Linked DNA regions of Homo sapiens: all the other regions are linked to region 1. Evidence: promoter capture Hi-C in 16 types of primary human blood cells and fetal thymus (Javierre and others, 2016). All regions are on one chromosome and are shown on one strand. The core of a region is centred on a gene start or on the middle of the fragment in contact, and the rest is flanking DNA. Distances in the headings are between cores, read along the strand shown. Region 1 holds the start of PARP12 (poly(ADP-ribose) polymerase family member 12). Region 2 overlaps FMC1-LUC7L2 (FMC1-LUC7L2 readthrough). Region 3 has its middle 13 kb from the start of KLRG2.

Region 1 (3,583 bases), core at 362-2,861:
CGGAGGTCAGTCAGCCTGCATCCCTGAATGACTGTATGGATCAAGGCCCCCACCCCATGCTCACTACTGGGCCTGACATGAGCAAGAAATATCTACTCTATTAAGACAAACATACACACACACACACAAAACAGGGAGCAAGCAAGAAAGGAGGGAGCAGGGGAGGAAGGAATTCTCCTTGATGACTAGCTTCCCAGTGGTTCCCCCACAACATCCTCCCTTAAATTGGCACCCACACCACTACCTTAGACTTCCTAAAACGCAAACCTGATGGTTGCTCTCTCCTGCCATTTTACCCGCCCCATCACCTCCAGGGTGAGGCCCAAATTCTTTAGCATAAACCTCAGCAATCCCTTCCACACATCCCACTGGCCACATGCTATGCACAGAACATGGACGCTAAGTGCTGGGGAGACAGCTGGAGCCTCTGCCCTCAGGGAGTTTCTATTCTACTGGCAGCTGGGTGCCATGAGGAAAATAAACAGTTCCCTGTGACCAAGAGTAAGGGGAGGAAAAATCCTCAAATGGGATGTGATCTTTAGGTTGAGGCCTGAAGGATTAACAAATAGGGCCAACCAAGAGCAAGAAGGGCATTCCAGGCAGAGCAAAGACTCCCAGAAATGCCCAGGCTCCCAGAAATGCCCGGGGGGGGGGGGGTGTTCCAGTCACAGAAGGGTCCTGGGTGGGCAGGGACCAGTGCCCCAGGACCTTGTGGGCGATGGCAGGGAGTCTGCATTTTCCAGTTTGTAAGCAGATTAATAGGGTTGAACTGGGTTTAAAGATCTCTACCAGCTGCTGGGCAGAGAAAACCTTCATTGTCTGGCCTCAAAGCTGGCAAGGGGCGACCCGCGGCGTCGTGGAGTTCCCCTAAGCCGCCGCCTCCCTCCCTCCCCACCCCACACGGCCACACCCGGGTGTTCCACCCGGCACTACCATGCTCTATGTAAATCACTCTCTCCCCCCAGGCGTCTAGAGGACCCCACTCGACCCTGAGTCCCTCGCACTGTGCCAGGTACTCCGCAGGTGCTCATTAAACGCTCGCTTTAGTGAATGACGGTGCGAGGTCAGGGCAGAGCCACCGAATTGTCTGCTCAAACTTCAAGTAGGACCCCCAAGCGGGCTGGAAGTGCGTGAGGGCGCGCAGGACCTCCGCCCGCCGTCGCTCCCGGCGCGGCGCCTTACCCGGCTCTCAGGAACTTGCAGGCGCCGTAGACCATGAACCTGCAGAGGTGGAGCTGCGCGCAGAGCCCCACGCAGCCCGGCTTGGAGCCCTGGTGCGCGCGACACAGGCGCAGCGGCGAGGCGGCCAGCACCACGCGCTCCGGGGCCGCGGCTGCGCCGCCCGCCCGCACCGCCACCACGAAGCGCCCACGCTGCCGCAGCAGCCGCTCCAGCGCGTCGGCGCTCAAGCCCATCCGCAAGCGGCGCCGCAGCTCGGGCAACTCCAGGGCGCCCCCGGCCGCGCACAGCACCTGGGTGACCTCACCGACGACGCCGGCCTGGGCCATGGCCGCTGGGCCTGCTCCCGTCGGACCGCGGGTGGCGCGACGCGGACGGCGGCGGACGCTGGCTGGCGGGCGGCTCTCGCAGGGTGGAGACGCCGGCGGGAAACGAAACCGAAAGCGGCCCCGGGCCGGCGAAAAACAGAACCTGTGCGCCCTCGCCACGCCCCCGGTCCGCAGCTGAGCGGCTGCGCCTTCCGCCTCAGGGCCCCCAGCTGTGAGGCCGCCGCCCGACGGAAGCTCGGGAGCTCTTGAGCTCGGGCGTTCGGCCCGGAGCGCGGGCTGTGGCTGTGGCGGCTCGCGGGGGTCAGTACCTAGTCCCTGAAAATGGCTTCCCTGGATGTTTGAGGGACCAGGAGCCCCTAATGCCGCGATGCTCAGCGCGCCTTCAGTCAGAGGGAGCCTCGAGGGCGGCGGCAGCGCTGGCGGAGCCGGCTGGACGCCGCCGGTTAAAGCCGCTCAGCGTCGCCCAGGCCAAGCCCGGGCTTCGTAGACGGCTCACAGAAACAGGGACAACTGACGGGAGCTCTCACCCCTCGAACAAGTGACAAAAGCGATCACTCCGCATAGAAGACGCACTTAATTAAAGGTTCCTTTCGCCTCGGTGCATCAATGAGTTCCTTCATTTAAACATAAAAGGGTATGTCCTTTAAAAGAGCAAATCCGTGAGCCGAGATTGCGCGACTGCACTCCAGCCTGGGCGACAGAGCGAGACTCCGTCTCAAAAAATAAAATAAAATAAAATAAAATCCGTTACTCCCAGCCCCTGCTAAGTAACGATTGAACAAATATTTTAGAAGACCCTTCAGAGCAAAGGACCCTCTCACACGCTGAGAGCAATGCGAGTTGTTAGAGCCCTTTGAGGAGGTAATCCAGGAATAGCTATTAAAATTGAAAACGCGTGTGACCTTTGACCCAGCAATCTTTCCTCTCGGAATCTTCCAGAAGTAAAAGGAACAGTAAATAAGTTATGTGTGAAAGTGTTACTGGGGGAACCCTACCTGGGAGGTAGGGTTACGTGGGAACAGTGTGGTTGATCTTTAAAGACTATTACGAAGGCTGTTTAACAAGCATGCGTTAGAGCTCCGTGTGCGGATGTAGAGGGGCAGACAGCCATGATGTGGTGGTAAACGAGAAAAGATGGCTGTACAGAAATGTCTAAATAATCAAGTTGAATGATCAAGAATTAATTTTTTTAAATGTCTGAATAACAAAAAGAGAAGCCTGTGTGTGTGTGTGTGGCAGGATATTTTTGAATAAGCACGGAGAAAGATGAAGAAACACACAAGGGTAGTTGAGAGGAGGCAGTAGGAGGTATTAGGAAAATGGAAAAGGGAAGATGAGAGGCAGAAGGATTGTGGGGGGAGAGTACTTACGGTATACGGTATAACATTCACTAAAAATGAATATAAAAATCTTAACTATAGGCCAGGCACAGTGGCTCACGCCTGTAATCCCAGCACTTTGGGAGGTCAAGGCGGGCGGATCACTTGAGGTCAGTAGTTTGAGACCAGCCTGGCCAACGTGGTGAAACCCCGTCTCTGCTAAAAACGTAAAAATTAGCCGGGCGTGGTAACGGGCGCCAGTAATCCCAGCTACTCGGGAGACAGGCAGGAGAATCGCTTGAATCCGGGAGGCAGAGATTGCAGTGAGCGGAGATCATGACACTGCACTCCAGCCTGGGCGACAGAGTGAGACTCCATCTTTAAAAAAAAAAAAAAAATTACCTGTACTATTACTACAAAAATGTAAATAATAAGTGTATGGATAAAGACTAGATAGTAACATGGACAAATGAAAATGAATTTATTTAATTAGGAAATTGAATGAAGGGTTTTCTCTTGGATTTTAATTGTGATTTTAATGTTTTCATTGTATAAAATGTTAATTTTGTTTTTGTTATTGTTTTAGAGACAAGGTCTTGGTCTGTCACCCAGGCTGTAGTATAATGGTACAGTCATAGCTCACTACAACCTGGAACTTCTGGGCTCAAGCGAACCTTCCACCTTAGCCTCCCAAGTAGCTGGGCCTAGAGGCACGTGCCACCATGCCCAGATAATTTTTATATTTTTTTGTAGAGA
Region 2 (3,583 bases), core at 333-2,832, 700 kb before region 1:
TGGATCACTTAAGGTCAGGAGTTTGAGACCAGCCTGGCCAACATGGTGAAAACCTGCGTTAAAAAAAAAAAAAAAGTCAGATAGTAAATATTTGAGTGTTGTAGGCCACACAGTATGGGATCCCTCACAAACCACCCAACTCTATTGTGGGGCAAAAGCAACCACAACAATATGTAAATGAACGAGCCTGGCAGTATTCGAATTTTTGTGAAACTTTATTCACAAAAATAGGCCGTGGGCTGCATTTGGCCTGTGGACCGTAGCTTGCTGACTCCTGTGCTAAAGGATAAACTTCAGACAAAAAGGAAATGATCCCAGATGGACAGGCAGAGATTTCCGAAGGAATGAAGAGCAAAATAAGTGGTAAATAAAGAACATTGATTATATAAAACTTGGTTTTAAAAAATAAGAGAACTAAAAGACCTGGTAACAAGAGCATATAACTTGGGATGAGAGTAAATGGAGTTAGTGTTCTAGGTTCCTTGTATTACCTCTCTTGGGGGAGGGGAGTATAAAGGTATTGATTAAATTAGACTTTGATACCTTAAGGATACACATTATAACTTCTAGGGTAATCACTGAAAGAATAAAAATATAATAAAATGAAACTTCCACACTACTAGAGTGGAAGAAATTGGAATGATTAAAAATCAGGCAGGAAAGGAGAGAAAAACATGAAATAGATGAGACAAATAGGCAAAAATAAGAGTTTTAAACCCAAACACAGGAGTAATTACATGAATATAAATCATCAATGCTTCCAAGAGTGAACATCACTTAATTCACTCCTCAATTTCACTCCTCAATTTTGATCATTATGTATTGTATAGACTATTTTTAAGCCCCAATTATATGCTGTTTATAAGACATCTAAAATAAAAAAAAGAACTCAAATCTCTTCAACAAAACATAATTATTGGTTTTAGTGTATTTCTTTAAATACACTGTTTTTCAGGGTCAGATCACATTGTGTACATAATAGTGTATCCCTCAAAGACATATTAATTTGCACATTTTTCTATTATTATAAATCAGTTCCCAAAGGATATCCTAGTATTTGGAGTTTGGAATTCAGAGTTCTCTGAATAACTGAAGAGAAGCTATTTTGTGTATTACTAAAGATAACTTGATTCAAAATAATTTTTTTTTTTTTTTTGAGATGGAGTCTCACACTCACCAGGGCTGGAGTGCAATGGCGCGATCTCGGCTCACTGCAACCTCCGCCTCTTGGGTTCAAGCGGTTCTCCTGCCTCAGCCTCCGGTGTAGCTGGGACTACAGGCATGCGCCACCACGCCCAGCTCATTTTTTCTATTTTTAGTAGAGACAGGGTTTCACCATGTTGGCAGGCTGGTCTCAAACTCCCGACCTCGTGATTCGCCCGCCTCGGCCTCCCAAAGTGCTGGGATTCCAGGTGTGAGCCACTGCGTCCGACCTCAAAAATTTTCATTGGCCCAATACGCATTTATTTTTGAGATAGAGTCTTGCTTTGTACCCAGCCTGGAGTGCAGTGGCATAATCTCGGCTTACTGCAACCTCCACTTCCCGGGTTCAAGTGATTCTCCTGCCTCAGCCTCCGAGTAGCTGGGATTACAGGCACGCGCATCCATGCCCGGCTAATTTTTGTATTTTTAGTAGAGATGGAATTTCACCATGTTGGTCAGGCTGGTCTCGAACTCCTGACCTCAAGGTGATCCGCCCGCCTCTGCCTCCCAAAGTACTGGGATTACAGGCATGAGCCATCCCTCCCAGCCGCAATATACATTTAAAGGAATTTTGGGACTATTACTACTATTCATGTTTTTTATTGATCTGCTAATAACAGTTCCAAGGCGATGAGTATACAGTGTTAATGGAACACAAATCTCTATTATTTCCTTTCAAAGTATCCAGGAAGTGCCTGTCTTCTTAAACATTTGATTTTATTAACTCATTCTTCTTACAGTTTTAAATTTCTTTTTAGGCGATGAATATACAGTGTTAATGGAACACAAATCTCTATTATGTCCTTTCAAAGTATCTAGAAAGTGCCTGTCTTCTTAAACATTTGGTTTTATTAACTCATTCATTTTTCTTACAGTTTTAGATTTCTTTTTAAGCAACCTTTCTTCCTGCACACTGACCTATGTCTTACTTAAGGAATTTTTTTTTTTAGAAGTCTCGCTCTGTCGCGCAGGTTGCAGCGCAGTGGCGTCATCTCGACTCACTGCAACCTCCGTCTCCCGGGTTCAAACGATTCTCCTGCCTCAGCCTCCCGAGTAGCTGGGGAGGCGCCCGCCATCACGCCCGGCTAATTTTTATATTTTTAGTAGAGACAGGGTTTCACCATGTTGGCCAGGCTGATCTTGAACTCCTGACCTCAGGCAATCCACCTCCCTTGGCCTCCCAAAGTGCGGGGTTTACAGGCGTGAGCCACCGCGCCCGGCAAGGAATTAATATTTTACTAAAACAGTTTTTAGAAACACCAGGGAAAGGCTCAGGGCTAAGTATTTTATTCCAGTTTGTTCTAACAGCCACGCCATAGCAGACGTGTGACCACCTCCACCAGCCCTACGAGGGGTAGAACTGAAGCCAAGGCCCCAGTCACGGGCCGGGCTTCAGAATCCAGGCTTCCCTGCGGCCAGCGCCGCTGGCTCCCTGCTCCCCGAGATCGCCTCCCCAGTAGCTGAGAATACGCTGAGTTTTTATGGTTTCACATTCAGACTAAGCCGCCCGCGACCTTGTAGGTAAAGATGAATCCGAATGGGTCGGCGCGCCTGTTTCCTAGGGTACTGCTTTCGGGCGCTTTCTCCTGAAGTTGACACTTCCCAGCCGAGGAGCCTTAAAGCCCCACGCAGCGGAAGGAACGCGGCCCCGGCGGCGGCGAGACAGGCCTGCTCCCGGCCGGGAAAGGCGCACGAGAACCAGGACGCGTCCACGCCACTCGGGGCGGGCGTTCGCCCCGAGCACGCCCACCTCAGACGCCAAGGAGGCTGACCGCAGTCCGGTCGACGATGGGCATGGTCTCTACTTACTTTCCGCCCAGGCTAACCTCTAGCGCATTTTGCTAATTTGGGTCTGAATCGCCATCACCGCGGGCAGCGCAGCCTTAGCCGCCAGCCCTACAGCCGGGAGGGAATGTAATGTAAGGTTTGGCGCCTCGGGGCGGATCCGGCTTGCACAGTCAGTTAAGGAACCAGAGTATCGCGAGATCCGGGGTAAAGGGGCGGGAGGAGCGCGCGTGCACGCGCCCAGAGCCGTTAGGGTGGAACTCCACTCGGGCGGGGCGGGCGGAGTGATACAGCTGGACGCCAGTTGGTGGAGCCCCCGCGGGAAACGACTGAGCGCGAGGAGCGTGCGCGCTCCCGTCGTGGCGACGGTGGCGGCGAGCGGCGTCAGAGCTTGAGGGGGGGTTGACGGCTTCTGGCGGGTGGCGGTGTTGAAGGCGAGAGCTTGCTTGGCCCGTGTCGCTTCTGTCCCAAGAACCGGACGGAGAGTGAGGGCACGAGGGTCGCTGTCGGGGGCTGTCGTCTTCCACGTACACGTCGTCGTGAGGAGCGCAGTCCGGACTCTTCCCGCAACCCCTCCGGCTCCCTTTCCGCACGC
Region 3 (3,583 bases), core at 345-2,844, 570 kb before region 1:
ATTTTCAGGATAAAAAGTCCAACTGCCCTCTTCAGAGGAGGAAGCAGAAAATCTCTCTTTTTTTGGGGGGGGGGTAATGACTCAATAGGAAAGTGAAAGAGCTAATTTTAAACCAGACTCTCTCTACCCATCAGCGGGGTGTTTTTGTCACTGCTGTCAGGAGCAGGGATGATGAGTTGCTCCACTCCAGGGATCTCATTCACATCTGCACTGGGTGAATGGCACCCGCTGGGGCTAAGCAGCCCACAGCCTGCTCTGCTGAATGCGCAGCCCTGGTGAACAGCCCCTCTCCTAGAGCCTGTGCCTGGGCCCCAATGGGTTGCTAGACTGCAGAGGAAGATGTGGGGGTCTCCTCACAAGACCCTGACTACCCACTTTGGCCCGACTGTGTGGAGCTCGATGAGGACAAAGAGACTGAATTCATTTAAAACCCACCAGATTCTGGTTCCACCTGGATCTAAGAGATTGGTCCTCCCAGGGAAGTCAGGCCACTGCAGGAAAGCTGGATGTCAGGGTAGATAGCAGGGCTGGAGGCAGCGAGCAGCCTGGGCTGCTCAGGATTAAAGGGGAGACGCAAAGCCTCAGCAGCGCCACAGCCCTCTGGGGGGTCAGTTTTGCCTGATGGTCTCTCGGGCCCTGGAGTTGGCTCTATCAGGACTGAACTGGCCTGGCCACCTCTGCCTGTCCTCAGTCTGAGGTCCACTGCCCAGCCAGGCCCTGGTGCGTGTCAGTCCTGTCTTGCTTCTGTGACCTGCCTTCACCTGTTCTCTCCATCTCCTCTGCCCACCTCAGGACAGGAGAGTATGCTTCCTGAGAGCTGTCGGATATTGGGAGGATTCTGAACACTCAAGGACTTGCCTGTGTGAAACAGAGGAGGGGTCTCACATGACCACCGTGCCTCTCCAGGGACACTCACACACCCCAAAAGGGAGCAGCCCTAGAATCCAGGGATTCCCCACACCCTGCTCCCAAATCACAGTCACTCCATCCTGCAGGCCCCAAAACCAGCACACTTCAAGGCCAGATCCTCCTTTGGACCTTAATCCAAACCACGTGTCCCTTTTCTCTAGGGGCTCAGGGTTACACTCCACCTCCCGCCACACATCCAGCCCTCAGTGCCCCTATTAACCCAAAACTGGCAATGGCAGGGGGAACAACCCAGCCAGGACTTGCTATCCATGGGCATTTTGTGCCAAGCTCTTCTGTACCTGTTGGGACCACCCTCAAGGGTGCAAATCAACTGTGGCCCGGAAAAAGCCTGAAATTCCCTCATTCCCCTGAAAGTGGGAGTTGTGAGGACAGACCCTCCTTGGCCCAGGTTAATAACTCTGGCAATAACCATGGCCTTTAAGGGAGATTGGGGGCACACAACGACACTACAACACATCAACACTAACATCCATGCATATGGCTTGGCTGGGGAGGAGGGTTTCATGACAGCACCACGCGGGGTTGAATCAGACATGTGCTTTTCAAGCAGCGAGAATATCCGGTCAGATATCTGCACAGTCCTTTGTGGTACAAGCATAACATGATCACCAGCCTGTCAAATACGAGGAGTCAGGTGGCTGGAGGAAGATGGTCACAGCCCATAAAGAGGCTTTTCTCCCGAGTAAAAGCCGCATTCGTCAGTTAGAGAAGAATAAATGTCCGATGAGGAGCCTCTGGCTTCAGGGGAAATCTACTTCAGAAAATAGTTGAGGCCGGGCATGGTGGTTCATGCCTGTAATCCCAGCACTTTGGGAGGCCGAGGCAGGTGGACCATTTGAGATTAGGAGTTCGAGACCAGCCTGACCAACATGGTGAAACCTCGTATCTACTAAAAATACGAAAAAATTAGCTGGACGTGGTGCACGCCTGCAGTCCCAGCTACTCAGGAGGCTGAGGCAGGAGAATTGCTTGAACCTGGGAGGTGGACGTTGCAGTGAGCCGACATTGCGCCACTGCACTCCAGCCTGGGTGACAGAGCGAGACTCCATCTCAAAAAAAAAAAAAAAAAGAAAATAGTTTAAATGCTTTGCTAAAATTTTTAATTTCATTTTCTAAAAGTTGGTATCTGGTTGTCCTTTTCTTAATGCAAAGTGAGAACGTTCCCTACCACAGACCCAGTGAATATGATCCAGATTATGTTGCCATGAACATGTGGTCCAAAATGCCTGCTCAGGTTTTCAGGATGCAGAGTTTCGCTTTGCTGAATTCTAAGCAGATATAAATATGTTAAGGGTGAAGAGTAGAGGAGGATCAGGGTCAGATGAATGGGAGAATGAGAAAGAAAGTTGGACCAGTTTGGGTCCTAATCATAAACATCTTGAAGCCGGACGCAGTGGCTCTTGTCTGTAATCCCAGCACTTTGGGAGGCTGAGGTGGGCGGATCACTTGAGCTCAGGAGTTCGAGAACAGCCTGGGCAACATGATAGAACCCCACCTCTATTAAAAATACAAAAATTAGCCAGGCGTGGTGGCAGGCACCTGTAATCCCAGCTACTCAGGAGGCTGAGGGAGAAGAATCGCTTGAACCCAGGAGGCGGAGGTTAAAGTGAGCTGAGATTGTGCCACTGCACTCCAGCCTGGGCAACAGAGCGAGACCCCATCTCAAAAAACAAACAAACAAACAAACAAACAAAAAAACATCATGAGGGCGTCAGACAAGTGGAAATTGTCAGCCATCACTTAGCTCTGGCTGAAGTGAACAAAACCCTTCCGTAGATGTGACCGTCTTTTTTTTTTTTTTTTTGAGACAGAGTCTCACTCTGTTGCCCAGGCTGGAGTGCAGTGGCTCGATCTCTGCTAACTACAATCCCCGCCTCCCAGGTTCAAATGGTTCTCATGCCTCAGCCTCCTGAGCAGCTGCGATTACAGGTGTGTGCTACTACACCAGGCTAATTTTTTTTTTTTTTTTTTTTTTTTAGAGACGGGTTTTGCGAAGTTGCCCAGGCTAGTCGCGAGCTCCTGAGCTCAAGTGATGCGCCCACCTCAGCCTCCCAAAGTACTGGGATTACAGGCATGAGTCACTGCCTCCGATATATAGAAGTGATCTTCTAAGGGACAAATCTAACATCTCTAACGATCTTGGGACCAAGTCCATGGATCCACTGAGGTCCACCCTCCTCCCTAAGGGAATAGACACTCCTACTACTGAGTACCCATCAGAGACACCAGGCCCCCGAGGACAAAATCATTTGCCATTTTGTGATCACGGGGGCTCAGACTGCACTTTATAAATCCACATATATAACTCTGATGGGAATTTCAAGGCCCAGCTTGGGAGATCGACCATTGTCAAGTTTAAAGCTTTGCTTTCATTGCTAACAATTCTAGTTTCGTGATGAACCTTTTACACTTCAGGAAAAATCGGTTTATTATTTCACTTGTGGGTAATGGGAGTTTCTAGGGAAGTAGTTCCAAATTGGTTTGTATATAGATTCCTTGGAAACTCCAGTAAAAGTTGGGAACCCTCTCCCTAGTAAATACCTATACATTTCAGTTTCAGGGGGTCACAACCTGAAGCCCACTCATGAACAACAACATAAGGAGCCCTGGTTCCAGGCGGGAGCTCCACCAGCTGGCTTATTGATTCCACTGC

What was found. Contacts are between HindIII fragments. The CHiCAGO score rates a contact against its expected background, and 5 or more counts as called.
Region 2: a fragment that was not itself captured here is called in contact with the fragment with the promoter of PARP12 in region 1 in 1 of 17 cell types (M0 macrophages); the score reaches 5.1 in M0 macrophages.
Region 3: a fragment that was not itself captured here is called in contact with the fragment with the promoter of PARP12 in region 1 in 1 of 17 cell types (monocytes); the score reaches 5.1 in monocytes.

What each region holds. Positions count from the first base shown.
Region 1 is chr7:140,061,340-140,064,922 of GRCh38, forward strand. It overlaps PARP12 (poly(ADP-ribose) polymerase family member 12), which reads right to left and starts at 1,612. Exons shown (of 12, transcript NM_022750.4): 1 at 1,183-1,612. The coding sequence starts at 1,508. RefSeq lists a silencer at 1,220-1,539 and an enhancer at 1,550-1,759. The HindIII fragment of the contact is 6,136 bases long and covers 1-3,583 here.
Region 2 is chr7:139,356,556-139,360,138 of GRCh38, forward strand. All of the region lies in intron 2 of FMC1-LUC7L2 (FMC1-LUC7L2 readthrough), which reads left to right. LUC7L2 (LUC7 like 2, pre-mRNA splicing factor) reads left to right here and starts at 3,339. Exons shown (of 10, transcript NM_016019.5): 1 at 3,339-3,583. RefSeq lists enhancers at 2,474-2,603, 3,324-3,373. The HindIII fragment of the contact is 5,233 bases long and covers 1-3,583 here.
Region 3 is chr7:139,495,257-139,498,839 of GRCh38, forward strand. No RefSeq gene overlaps it. Among named protein-coding and RNA genes, the nearest start is that of KLRG2, 13 kb to the left of the region's middle. RefSeq lists an enhancer at 327-506. The HindIII fragment of the contact is 3,389 bases long and covers 1-3,289 here.